3 separate regions of the Homo sapiens genome follow, and regions 2 and 3 are each linked to region 1. Evidence: promoter capture Hi-C in 16 types of primary human blood cells and fetal thymus (Javierre and others, 2016). All regions are on one chromosome and are shown on one strand. Each heading gives the region's core, a stretch centred on a gene start or on the middle of the fragment in contact. The rest is flanking DNA. Distances are from core to core; before and after follow the strand shown.

Evidence for each region. The method cuts DNA at HindIII sites, captures the fragments that hold promoters and counts their contacts. A CHiCAGO score of 5 or more calls a contact.
Region 2: a fragment that was not itself captured here is called in contact with the fragment with the promoter of CMPK2 in region 1 in 1 of 17 cell types (erythroblasts); the score reaches 5.4 in erythroblasts.
Region 3: a contact is called between a fragment that was not itself captured here and the fragment with the promoter of CMPK2 in region 1, in 1 of 17 cell types (erythroblasts). The highest score is 6.9, in erythroblasts.

Annotation. Positions count from the first base shown.
Region 1 is chr2:6,863,925-6,867,572 of GRCh38, forward strand. It overlaps CMPK2 (cytidine/uridine monophosphate kinase 2), which reads right to left and starts at 1,983. Exons shown (of 5, transcript NM_207315.4): 1 at 1,098-1,983. The coding sequence starts at 1,772. It also overlaps a transcript of RSAD2 not described here. RefSeq lists silencers at 1,294-1,733, 1,974-2,243 and an enhancer at 1,754-1,973. The HindIII fragment of the contact is 2,067 bases long and covers 444-2,510 here.
Region 2 is chr2:8,470,806-8,474,453 of GRCh38, forward strand. No RefSeq gene overlaps it. Among named protein-coding and RNA genes, the nearest start is that of LINC01814, 110 kb to the right of the region's middle. The HindIII fragment of the contact is 2,079 bases long and covers 1,003-3,081 here.
Region 3 is chr2:8,315,208-8,318,855 of GRCh38, forward strand. All of the region lies in intron 2 of LINC00299 (long intergenic non-protein coding RNA 299), which reads right to left. Among named protein-coding and RNA genes, the nearest start is that of LINC00299, 11 kb to the right of the region's middle. The HindIII fragment of the contact is 1,575 bases long and covers 1,025-2,599 here.

The DNA.
Region 1 (3,648 bases), core at 733-3,232:
AATGGGAAATCAGCTGCACAGTGGGCTGGAGAGAGCAGTCTTCATCTGCAGCATGTCCTCTCCTAGCCATTCAGGGGGCTGAGATAAACAGCCAAGCACTGCAATCATGAAGCTGGCAGAGCAGCGTCCCCCTGGGAATTCCCAGTTCCTCAATGTGCATTATCTCACTGCACGCTCACAGCATCTCAGAGCGAGGCTCAGACACTTATGTGCTTGCTCTGAGCATGGCAATCTTCTAAGTGCTTTACAAGTATTCAGTTGCCAATCTCTGTGAACTGGGGTGGGGGGGTGCTATTATTATTCCCACCATATGAATTAAGGAAACTGAGGCAGAGAGTTGAAGAAACTTGCTCAAAGTGACACAGCTAATAAATGCCAGAGTTTAAATTTAAATACACGTGGTTGACCTTGCGCTCTTAACTGCTCCACAACGCTGTCCCGTAAGCTTGGAAAATATTCCCAAGATCCATGGGGGCATCCTCAGGGCTCATCTGTGTCACAGGAGGACATCTGCCTAGCCTGCGATCAGAAAGAATTTTCAGTCTCTTTCTGTGGGTACCTGCTGTGAGTCAGATGTTTCCTTAATCAGGACAACATCGCAAGATGGGAATTGTACATGTCAAAGGGCAAAACTTAGAGTAGTTGAGTAACCTGCACAAGGTTCATGGCCAGTCGGTAGGTAAACACTATTTAAGTCTAAATTTCTTAAACCCCCTAAACTCATGCATTTTCTTTTTCACCCCAAGATCCTTGAATGGTGATCATCAGCAAATAAAATTACTTCCCAGCTGACATTATTTTCCCTCACTCCCGGCAGCCCCTTTACTCCCTCTGTACTGCTGTTGGGATGCTTTTACAGCAAGCATCGCGTGGCTTGGTGTAGGTCTATGTTCCACGTCAGGTTGGAAGATCCTTGCAAACAAGAATCTTAAAAGAGTTGCCTGGCATACAGGACACCTTCCCTACCTGATTTGTGAACGGAAATAAACAAACCACCCAGGCAAGAACCGGCTCTACAGACCAGCCTCTTGGTCCAGTTCTCTGGTCTGAAGGGTTCAGATGCCACGCTGGGAGCTGGAAGCGGACAGAACTCTTACCTCCTCCAAAACGGCCCGGGCGGCTTCCCGGTCCGGGAAGACCACGGAACTGGGCAAGTCTGGCACCACCGGGTGCAGCGGGGGCTCCGGGACGGGCACGACCTGTGCGCAGCCCACCTGCAGCCGCCTGCCGTCTTGCACCTCCCAGAGGCGCTGCCACAGCTGGCCGCGCGGGTCGGCCTCGAACTCGCCCAAGTGCGGGCGTGGTGCCTCCTGACAGGCGCCCAGCAGCTCGAGCAGCGCTTGCCGGGTGTCAGGGTCATCCAGGGGGTCGCGCAGCAGGAAGCCTTGCTGTGCGCCGCCGGCCTGGCCGCCCGGGCAGTAGCAGAGCAGCCTGAGCAGCTGGCACCGCTGGAAGGGGCCGCGGCGCAGCTGGTGCAGCAGGCGCTGGTGCAGCCGCGCCGCCCGGACCCGGGCCCCGCAGCCGGCGTCCGGGGTCACGGGCACGCACAGCGAGTAGCTGCGCTCCGGGGGCCCCAGCAGCGCCGCCAGGCGGGGGTCGGGGGCGTCTGCGTCGCCGGGGGCGTCGGCGCCTAGGGCGAAGTGAGCCAGGGTGCAGTCGGGAAGCTCCAGGACGAAGCGGCGCGGCGGAGCCATGGCCCCAGCGCAGACCCCGCGCCGCCCGAGCAGCGGCCCCGACAGTGGCCCGCGCAGGAGCCGGCGGGCGAAGGCCATGGGCGCCTCAGCGACGCCGCCCTCGGCCCCGCCTCGGAAACGAAACCTGGCGGGAGCCAGGCGCCGGCGGGAAACGAAACCCGGAGGGAGCCAGGCGCCAGCGGGAAACGAAAGCGAAGCGTTGCGGGGAAACGAAAGCCGGAGGCCCAGGCGGGGCAGGAGCCCTGGGGCTGGGGCGCCCTTCCGGCCTCTCCTCCTCGCCGCGAGATGTGCGCGATAAACGGCCGGCGCTCGGGAGCAGACGCTTGGCCCCGGGGCCCCAGGTGCGCGGCTCCGCGGGCCTGCGCGGTCCCCAGGCGCCGGCTCCCGGGGCTGACACCGAATGAGGCCCCGCGCCGTCGGCCCCAAGGTAGCTCCGTGTGCGTTCTGCGGGTGGCTGGCGGCCCCGACCCTGGTTTGAGTTCCTCCTCTGCGGCTTATGCCGGGTGCATGGAGGGGGGCGGGGGTGCACGCGCGAGGGACAGAGAAGTCCCTTCCCGGTGTAACGGGCTCTTCAACGCCCACTTGCAGGCGCACTACTGCCCTTGGATGACTGACCAGGCCCTGCAGACCATGGGCTCCCTCCCCGACCTCAACTCCTAGCTCTGACCACGCGTCCCCGCCCCTCTAATCCTGCAGAGCTGCTTTCCTGCGGGAACAGGGCGCAGTTCTGGCTCTTCCCTCTCCTGTATCTTATCTCACCTGTGCACTCACTCACCTGTGCACACACTCACCTTTGCACACACTCACCTGTGCACAAGCTTTTCCCTCTTCTTGGAATTGCCCTCTCCCTTTTGCTGACTCTCCAACTGGGAAGTGTCGCCCAGATTGGCACCTCGAAATCGCCTTTCTTCCACCAAATTGAAGTTTCCTGCACTAAGGTGAAGTGTGTCAGGATAGCACCCTCTGCCTGCCACAGTCCAGCATCAGCACTGTTGCTGCCTAACAGTGTAACTGCCTAACAGTGTAACAGTGTTTGCGCAGTTATTTGGATATTTTATTCTGTGTTTACTCATTAACTGATGCCTTTTAAAAATGATGTCAAGCAAACCAAAAACAAACAAAAAGATAATATTCTCCAGGGAAACTCTCTCAAAAAAATAGAATTGAGACGAAGATTGAAAACATTAGATGAGCTGAAAGCAGTTTTTTTTTTATGTCTTAATAGTATTGGACTTAAACTTGGGATTATATTTAATTCTGAAAAAAAAAGTCTTAACAAACGTGAAATATAGATAGGTGGTTGGAGTGTGGGTTAATAGGCTAAGAAGAAAGAAGAATTAGGAGTTTAAAATTTTTTAGCTCTTTGAGAATAGAATAGTTTTTATTCTTTCTCAGGAATTTCACTTTTGGACATTTAGCATGTACCGGTGGTTTCACGTGTATGTAGTATATGGAAGTAAGAGTCTTCTAGTTACTCCCTTTTCTTCTCTAAGACAGTACTGCATCCTCAAGCCTGCTTGACCTTTTCCCTATGCCATCCACCTCTCTGGATGTATTAGTCTATCCTGGCTGCCATAACAAAATACCACGGACTGGGCCGCCTAAACAATAGAAAATTTGTTTTCTCAAAGTTCAGGTGGCCAGAGAAGCTGGAGATCAAGTTGCCAGCAGGGTTTGCTTTTTCTGAGGCCTCTCTTTCTAGCGTGCAGACCGCCTCCTTCTCTCTGTGTTCTCACGGGACCTTTCCTTTGTGCTTGCATCCTTGGCGTCTCCTTGAAGTTCCAAATTTCCTCTTCTGGGAAGGACACCAGTCAGATTGGGTTAGGGCCCATCATAATGTTCTCATTTTAATGTAATCACCTATTGAAAGCCTTATTTTGAAATACAGTCATACTGTGAGGCACTGGGGGCTAGGCCTGAGCATGAATTTTGGGGGACATGATATAGCCTATAA
Region 2 (3,648 bases), core at 792-3,291, 1.6 Mb after region 1:
AGGCAGGCTATTCATACGTGTTGACAGCTAAGTAACCCCCTTCCCCAGATGGTCCCAAACATCCACAGAGGCCTAAGGCTAAACCACATATTTTTTTCCCTTTTCCCTTCAAGTCACCTTTCAACCCACACCAGGACTCCTTCAGGGAACAGCTGGGGGTCCCTGAGTCTCTTGCTGGAGGGTCTGCACCATCCTCTCCCTGTCCCAAAGTTCTCTGAGTCTCTGGACCTTTCTGTCCCCCTGTCTTCCCCACTTGGACTCTACTTCATCTTAGAGATGCTCCCATCGGGTTTGGGTTGGTGACGGTTATCCTTAGAGGCACAGGTGGGTCCTACCTCCATCCTGGACCAGGGCACCCTTCCTTCACGGTGGCCATCCCCTCATTGCTAGCAAAGCCTCTGTGGCTCCCTGTCCCACTGAAGATTCCCACCCTGCCAGGACTTTGGAGCAGAAGGAAAATTCCATCTGGCCTCACATTTCACAGGTACTTCTTGAGTGCCTGGGATTTAACCTCTCAGCTCCTCAGTTTCTCCATCTGTAAAAGTAAAGGAGGTCAGGTTGGATGATCTCTAAGCTCCCTTCCATCTCTGTTCATTGGTGATTCTCAGTGCATGAACATTTTTAAGGATCACTGGAAGGGAGTATAACATAAATAATCAATTTAGTGAAAACACATACATTCCAATGAAATGCAAATTTCTTTAAGATGACTATAGCAGTAGTGTAAAGTGAGTCTGGGTGATAGCATGGAAGTCATCCCTATACCACCTGCAAAGGGACTGCCCTCAGGGAAAAATAACTGAGTAGTAAAGGAAAAGGAAGTGATGCTATTTTATCATGTCGACTTCCAGGTATATTGTTTTAAGCTATTTGATGTTTTGGCTTTTATGGTAGGAAAAAACATCTACCTGTAGAATGTTCAAATGAGTTGTCCATTTTCACGTGCACATTACAAACCAGAAGAACATTTATCATATAAGGTAATGGAAGCCTGTTTATGTAAGCTTGTTATGTTCAAGGCAACAAATTCAGAGTGTGTAGGCTGTACGTACAATGCAGTTTTTAAATCTGCTTACATTAAAAATTCTTTCTTTTCTGACATCTTCTGGTTCCTTTTTTCCTTATCACAAGGTTTCCTGAGCTGGGCTCCATAGACATTAAGAGACTTCTGGATGCACCTCAGAGGTGCCCTCAGCCCCCTAAAGTTGTGGGGCATATGCACTCTTTCATAGTGGCTTTCATCTGATTTTCAAAGGGACCCTTGCCCCGCAAAGTGGCCTCTGATTATGCTTCTCGTTCATAGGCAGGGGAGAAAAATTTCCCAACAAGACCTGTATATGGATAAGCCACCTAGCAGAAAGAATCTCAATTCTGGATCAGAGAGACCTGGGTTCACGTCAATTTGCCAGCTGAACTCTACTTTTGGACAAGTTAATTAAATACTGTGATTCTGAGCTGCCTCCTTTCTGTAAAATGTGGGTGATAGCATTTGTCTAGTTTACGAGTTACTGTGAGGATGAAATTATTTGCTCTCTGTAAGCCCCAGCACACCATTTGTGCTCAATGGCTGGTAGACCCCTCAACACTAAGGAAAACCAGAGCTGCCTCCCCAGGGTAGCTCCCAGCTCACCAGCACATCCTGCAGAGCTGTAAGACTAAAATGCAAGCACAACTCAGTCAACTAAACCTCACTGAAATCAATGTTTCTTTGCCTTCACAAGTTCGATTTCTCCTCAAGATGGTTTCTATGCAGTCCCCGTGAGAGTTGACTGAGAATCACCATACACCAGATGTCTAATCCCCAGGTTCCAACACCTCCCTCATGCAGCCACTATAAGAGGAAAAATGGCTTCCACACCCACCCAAAATCTTCGCTGCAATGCTGTTTTGTCCTTCCACCTTGGCCAATAAAGCCACTTCCTTGTGCTTGAGGCACCTCAGTATCCCACTTCTACTTCTTTCTTGACTTTCATTTCTTATACCTTGTCTTGAGCCACATCCTCTGTGCTAGAAACAGCTCCCACTTCCTGCTGGCCCAGCACCTCTGAGCACTTCCTCTCCATGGCTATACTCTTTCAGGAGTTTCTACACCCATATCACTGGGGGCTGTTTCTAAACCCTCCTCCGGTTGGGAAAGTGGAAAGTTGGTAAGTTCCCTGTAAAATATGCTGTGTGCTAGAGACCAGGAGGCCTGTCCAGTTCCCTATGTCCAATATGGGACAGCTCAGAACCTCTCATTCCCACCTCTAAGCAAAAGCAAGAGTTTTCATGTGAGTTTCTGAAACTTGGCACTTAATGCTGTTGTTCTCATGGTGTTGAGATAAGGAATACGGGTCAGTGTATGAACTCCAGCTTCCCCACTAACCGGCCTGCGATCTTGAGCCCTTAACCTCTGTGAGCCTCAATCTATTAAGTAGATAAGACGCAGTCTGTATTCAGATGACAATTACAAGGTTGGTATTAGATTCTATGGTCAGGCAAGACAAGGCCTGCAGGAGGGAGGAAAAGGGGGATTCTTCCTGGCTGAGGTAAGGAGGAAGGGAACATCAGAGCTGAGCCCTTCCAATTCCCATAAGCCCTATAAAGTTAGATTTATGTAATAAGTTTATTATAGAAGAATAATAGTAACCATTTATGGAATACCTACTTGGCAACAAGTGCTAAATATGCCTTGTTCCTTACCCTGGCAACATGGACCTTCGTGTTCCCATTTTGCAGATGTGGAGTATGAGGCTGAGAGGTACATGACTTCCCTCCAAAGCCTGGTGGAACCAAGTCTGTCTGGAGGCCCTACCACTGCCACACACCTTCCTGGTGTTATTTGTAGCTCTAGAAGAAGAGAAGGACTCTAAGGTCAAAGGTGTTAGAGGTATTGTAATGAGATGATGAACCAGGAGGCCTCTGGCATTCCCTCTCCCTCTCCTAAGATGGTCCTTCTTTACAGACATGGGCAGAACTAAAGCCTTGGAAAGAGCCTAAGCAGACAAGCAGCCAGGGAAAAGGGCACCCAGGTCCTGGCTGGCACCAGCCTGGCTATGGAGTCCTCCCCACAGGAAAAAGATGCCGATGTCAAGAAACTCAAGCTTAAGTCAGTAACAGCACCCTGATGGCCTTGGTCACTTCCTCAGGGCACCTGGACACACCCCAAGGCCTTACAGAATTTCAAATTTGGTTCAATGGCAGTGTCTGATTTTCTAGACTTACAAATCTGTAGATTATCCAGAAGAGCAACCAAAGTGCAATTATTTTTATGGTGGTCTCTGCTGTAAGACATTTTGCAAATTCAGAGTCCTATGCTTCAGAATGAAAGCTCTTCCCAAACTCCAGGGTCAATGGATTAAAGGAATGGATCTGGCTCTTGGCAGTGCCTGGGATGGCCAACATGCAAGCTCCCTAACCCCTTACCTCCTCCCTAACCCCTCACCTGTGTTACAGGTGAGACAGCCCTGTCGGTTCTCCTAGGGAAGGGGAGATGCATCAAACTGATGACAGCTACAGAGTGCTGAGACACGGAGTGGACATGGACACCAAGATGGCCGTAGGAGCTGCTGATGAAGCAGTGCCCGAAGTGACTGCTATTAGGAATAGCACAGAACGAGTTTCTTCATCACCTCCTTCGAGAGGGTGCCGTGATGGAACAGACGTAAT
Region 3 (3,648 bases), core at 562-3,061, 1.5 Mb after region 1:
AGACTCACCCATCTATAAACTGCATTTTCTACCATGGCCCCAAGTATAAAAAGGATGATATGATTACCATAATCTCAAGACATCTACACAATCCTGGGAAAAACCCAAACAACTATGAATCTCCCAGTGGGGGAAAGGTCATTTTGATATTTCTCTGATGTTACTTATTACTAAACTCACAAATTTCAAATTATAGTCATATTATTTGAAATTATAAATATGATCTGCCTAGAATAAGCCCCACTAACATGTGAGCACAGCTCGGAGGTAGAATCAGCCACATCATGTACTTTACACTGAAAATTCCACTCTTTTTCAAGAGTGTGTTAATGGCCTCTGCCTGCAAGTGTGGGCCCATGTGCTTTTTTCCAAAAACCAAAATGACAATAATTAAACCAGGCAGCTGCTGCCCCTAGCAATATGACAACCTCTCCCTGCTCCCTGGAATTTGCTGGAATCACCCTACTTGAGCTCATCCCGTTCGAATTAGCTGCTCTCTCCCTGTGCCCTGGCGATCTGGGTGAGTTTCCCATCTATTAGCTGAATTATTCAGATGTTTTCCCACAATGGCCCTAGCAGTCCTCATATAACTAGTTTCTAAATCAACAGTGAATTACATTATTGACAATCTGAGCAGATTAATTAAGAAATCTGTCAGGAATGACACGATGAGAGCTGGCTCCTGTTCAAGGCGGATCCGCAGTCTTCAAGACAGAAGTACGCTTGATGTGGCTTCAGAAGTGAGGGGTGAGTAACAGCAGCAGACCCAGGCACAGGCCACACCCACTGGGCTTAGCAGGACAGCCAGCATGGGAAGGCTGGGCTGGAGGTAGTAAGTCTCACACTCACACAGCTTCACAGGGCTGCTGGCTGGCTTGCATCAACTAAAGTGTAGGGCTGAAAAAAACATTCTGTGAACCCTCAAGCACTTTTTCAATGTGAGCTATGTATTGTTATTCCCATGCACAGACCCTGGGTGACAGAAACCATCATAGCTATGTCAGAAGAGGCTACTTTGCTTTTAAGCTTTTAAATGCCTGTTTTGGGGGGCTCTCAGGCCCCCCAAAAGCCAAACATCCTAGAAAATCCATTTTGGTGCCCAGCAACAAGAAAGCAACTTCTGTTCTATATACATCTATTCCTTCATGCATTAGTCCATTTTCACACTGCTATAAAGAAATGTCTGAGAGTGGGTAATTTATAAACAAAAGAGGTTTCATTAATTCACAGTTCCACTTGGCTGGGGAGACCTCAGGAAACTTAACCATCATGGCAGAAGGGGGAGCAAGGCAAGTCTTACATGGCAGCAGGCAAGAGAGGGAGTGAGCAGGGGAAACTGCCACTTTAAAACCATCAGATCTTGTGAGAACTCCCTCACTACAAGAACAGCACAGAGGAAACTGCCCACATGATTCAATCACCTCCCACCAGGCCCCTCCCTTGACATGTGGGATTACAATTCCGGATGAGATTTGGGTGGGGACACAGAGCCAAACCATATCACTTCATAATAAAATTATAGTTGCTTTCTCCAGAGAATCTTGCAATCGAAACCCAACATAAATGCAAATAAATAAATAAGAATTAAAAATCAGAATATCACAGAGTTCTGTTTGATCTAATTGATTTAATTTGAGGATTTTTTTTTGAGACCCTACTAGATCCATCAGCAATAATTTTGCAAATTTTCAGTGGATAACACAAAAGTTGTAAATTCCGAAGTCCTAGGTTCAAGTTTGAATGAAGCCCTCAGGAACTGGGTAGTCTTGGACCTGCCACTCCCAAAGCTGAGTGTTTCCACCTGCAAAGAAAAGATCCCTGCCTCCCACGCGGCTGTGAGGATCAGGTAGAAAAATGTGTTTGAAAGAGGGATTGGCTGATGTGTTATCCAACACACAACTTAAATATCTCATTTCATTTAATATTTACAACAACCTGCAATAAATGCATTATCTCTGTTTTAAGAATAAGAACAAGGAAGGTGAGTACATTTTTCAATATCAGAGGGTTGCTAGTAGCAGAGGCTGGCCCTAAGCCCCAGGCATCAGGCTCCCATATGAGGTTAGGGGTGTCCTGGGGAACTTGGGTTGTAGCTGAGCTCCAGAGGGTGAGTCAAGGTTTTCAGGAGAGAGGGAACATGGTGAGGGCAGGAATGCTGGAAAGGAGGGTGCCCTGGGCATCCTGTAGAGGAGCCACTGTAGGACCGGGGTGCTGTGTGGGGTGCATGGTGTGTCTGAGAACCAGCAAGTGGTATAATGAAGCCAAGTGGTGCCAAAGAAGCCAGGCAGAAGGTGAAAGAGAGGCCATGACAATTATCCTAATAGCAACAACCACAGCAGCAACCTGATTGACACTAACGAGAATGAGCTGGGGGTCTGATGGCGTTCAGGGTGTTTCACACATGCTAATTAACCCAGTGCTCCTTTCACCACGTGATCAATGAAGACAGTGAGGCCGAGAGGGGTGACGTCACTGGACACTGGCTATGAAGTGGACTTTGAGGGCCTGAAGGACAAGAAGAAATGTGTGGCCCCGAACAACAAGAGACCATCATGAGAAGGGCAGATGGCCGCGTGAGCAGTGAGCTTCGCATCACTGAAGCTTTCACGCAGGAGTTAGAAGAACATTTTCCTGGAATGCTGTAAAGCAGTTCTGACATCTTATCTCTTCTACCTCCAGATTCTGTAAGGTTCAGAATTGGGATCAGTCTCCTGACCTGGTGTTCTTAAAAGTTCTCATTGTGCACACCCAGTCACCTAACAGAACCTAGGGCAAAGAAGAGTGGAGTTTACTGATACCAAAAATGGGAATAAATTAAAAGGAATATCTTCCTAGATCAGAGATGAGACTGTTCAATCCATGATGATATGCAGTTGGGACACGGTCAGGAATGAAAAGAAGCTACAGAAATGCAAGTCAGGAAGAGAGACCTTGACCAGAAGGAATGAATGCAGATAAGACTGTCTCCAAAGACTCAGAGCAGGCCAGGCACAGTAGCTCAAGCCTGTAATCCCAGCACTTTGAGAGGCTGAAGTCGGTGGATCACTTGAGCCCAGGAGTTCGAGACCAGCCTGGGCAACATGGTGAAACCCTTTCTCTACCAAAAATATAATAATTAGCCAGGCATGGCGGTGCATACCTGTAGTCCCAGCTAGTCAGGAGACTGAGGAGGGAGCATCACTTGAGCCCAAGAGGTAGAGGTTATCGTGAGCCATGATCTGCCACTGCAATCCAGCCCAGGCAACAGAGCAAGACCCTGTCTCAAAAAAAAAAAAAAAAAAAAAGACTCAGGGCTGCCTGCTGGACCTGCTTGGACCTGCAGGGTGGGTGCTGATTTAGGACAAGAATAGGATCAATTCGAGGTGCATTCTAGAAGCTACTAGTCTACAGCAGCCTCACATATCATCACTCACTGCTGTTTGCTTGGAAATCTGCAGTCTTCAGTTCCACTACTCAACTGAAGCACGCAGAGCTCTGGGGGTTCCTCTCAGGGACAGGCTTGGGGCATCAAGCATCCTTTTCAAGCATTCCCCTTCCCCCCAACCTCAGCCAGAGCACAAGTCTCTGATTAATTTATCATATTTGGTTTATCTTTGAGACTGTGTTGAATAAAAGGGTTTGGCTGCTTCTGTAGACTAAAAACGCTCT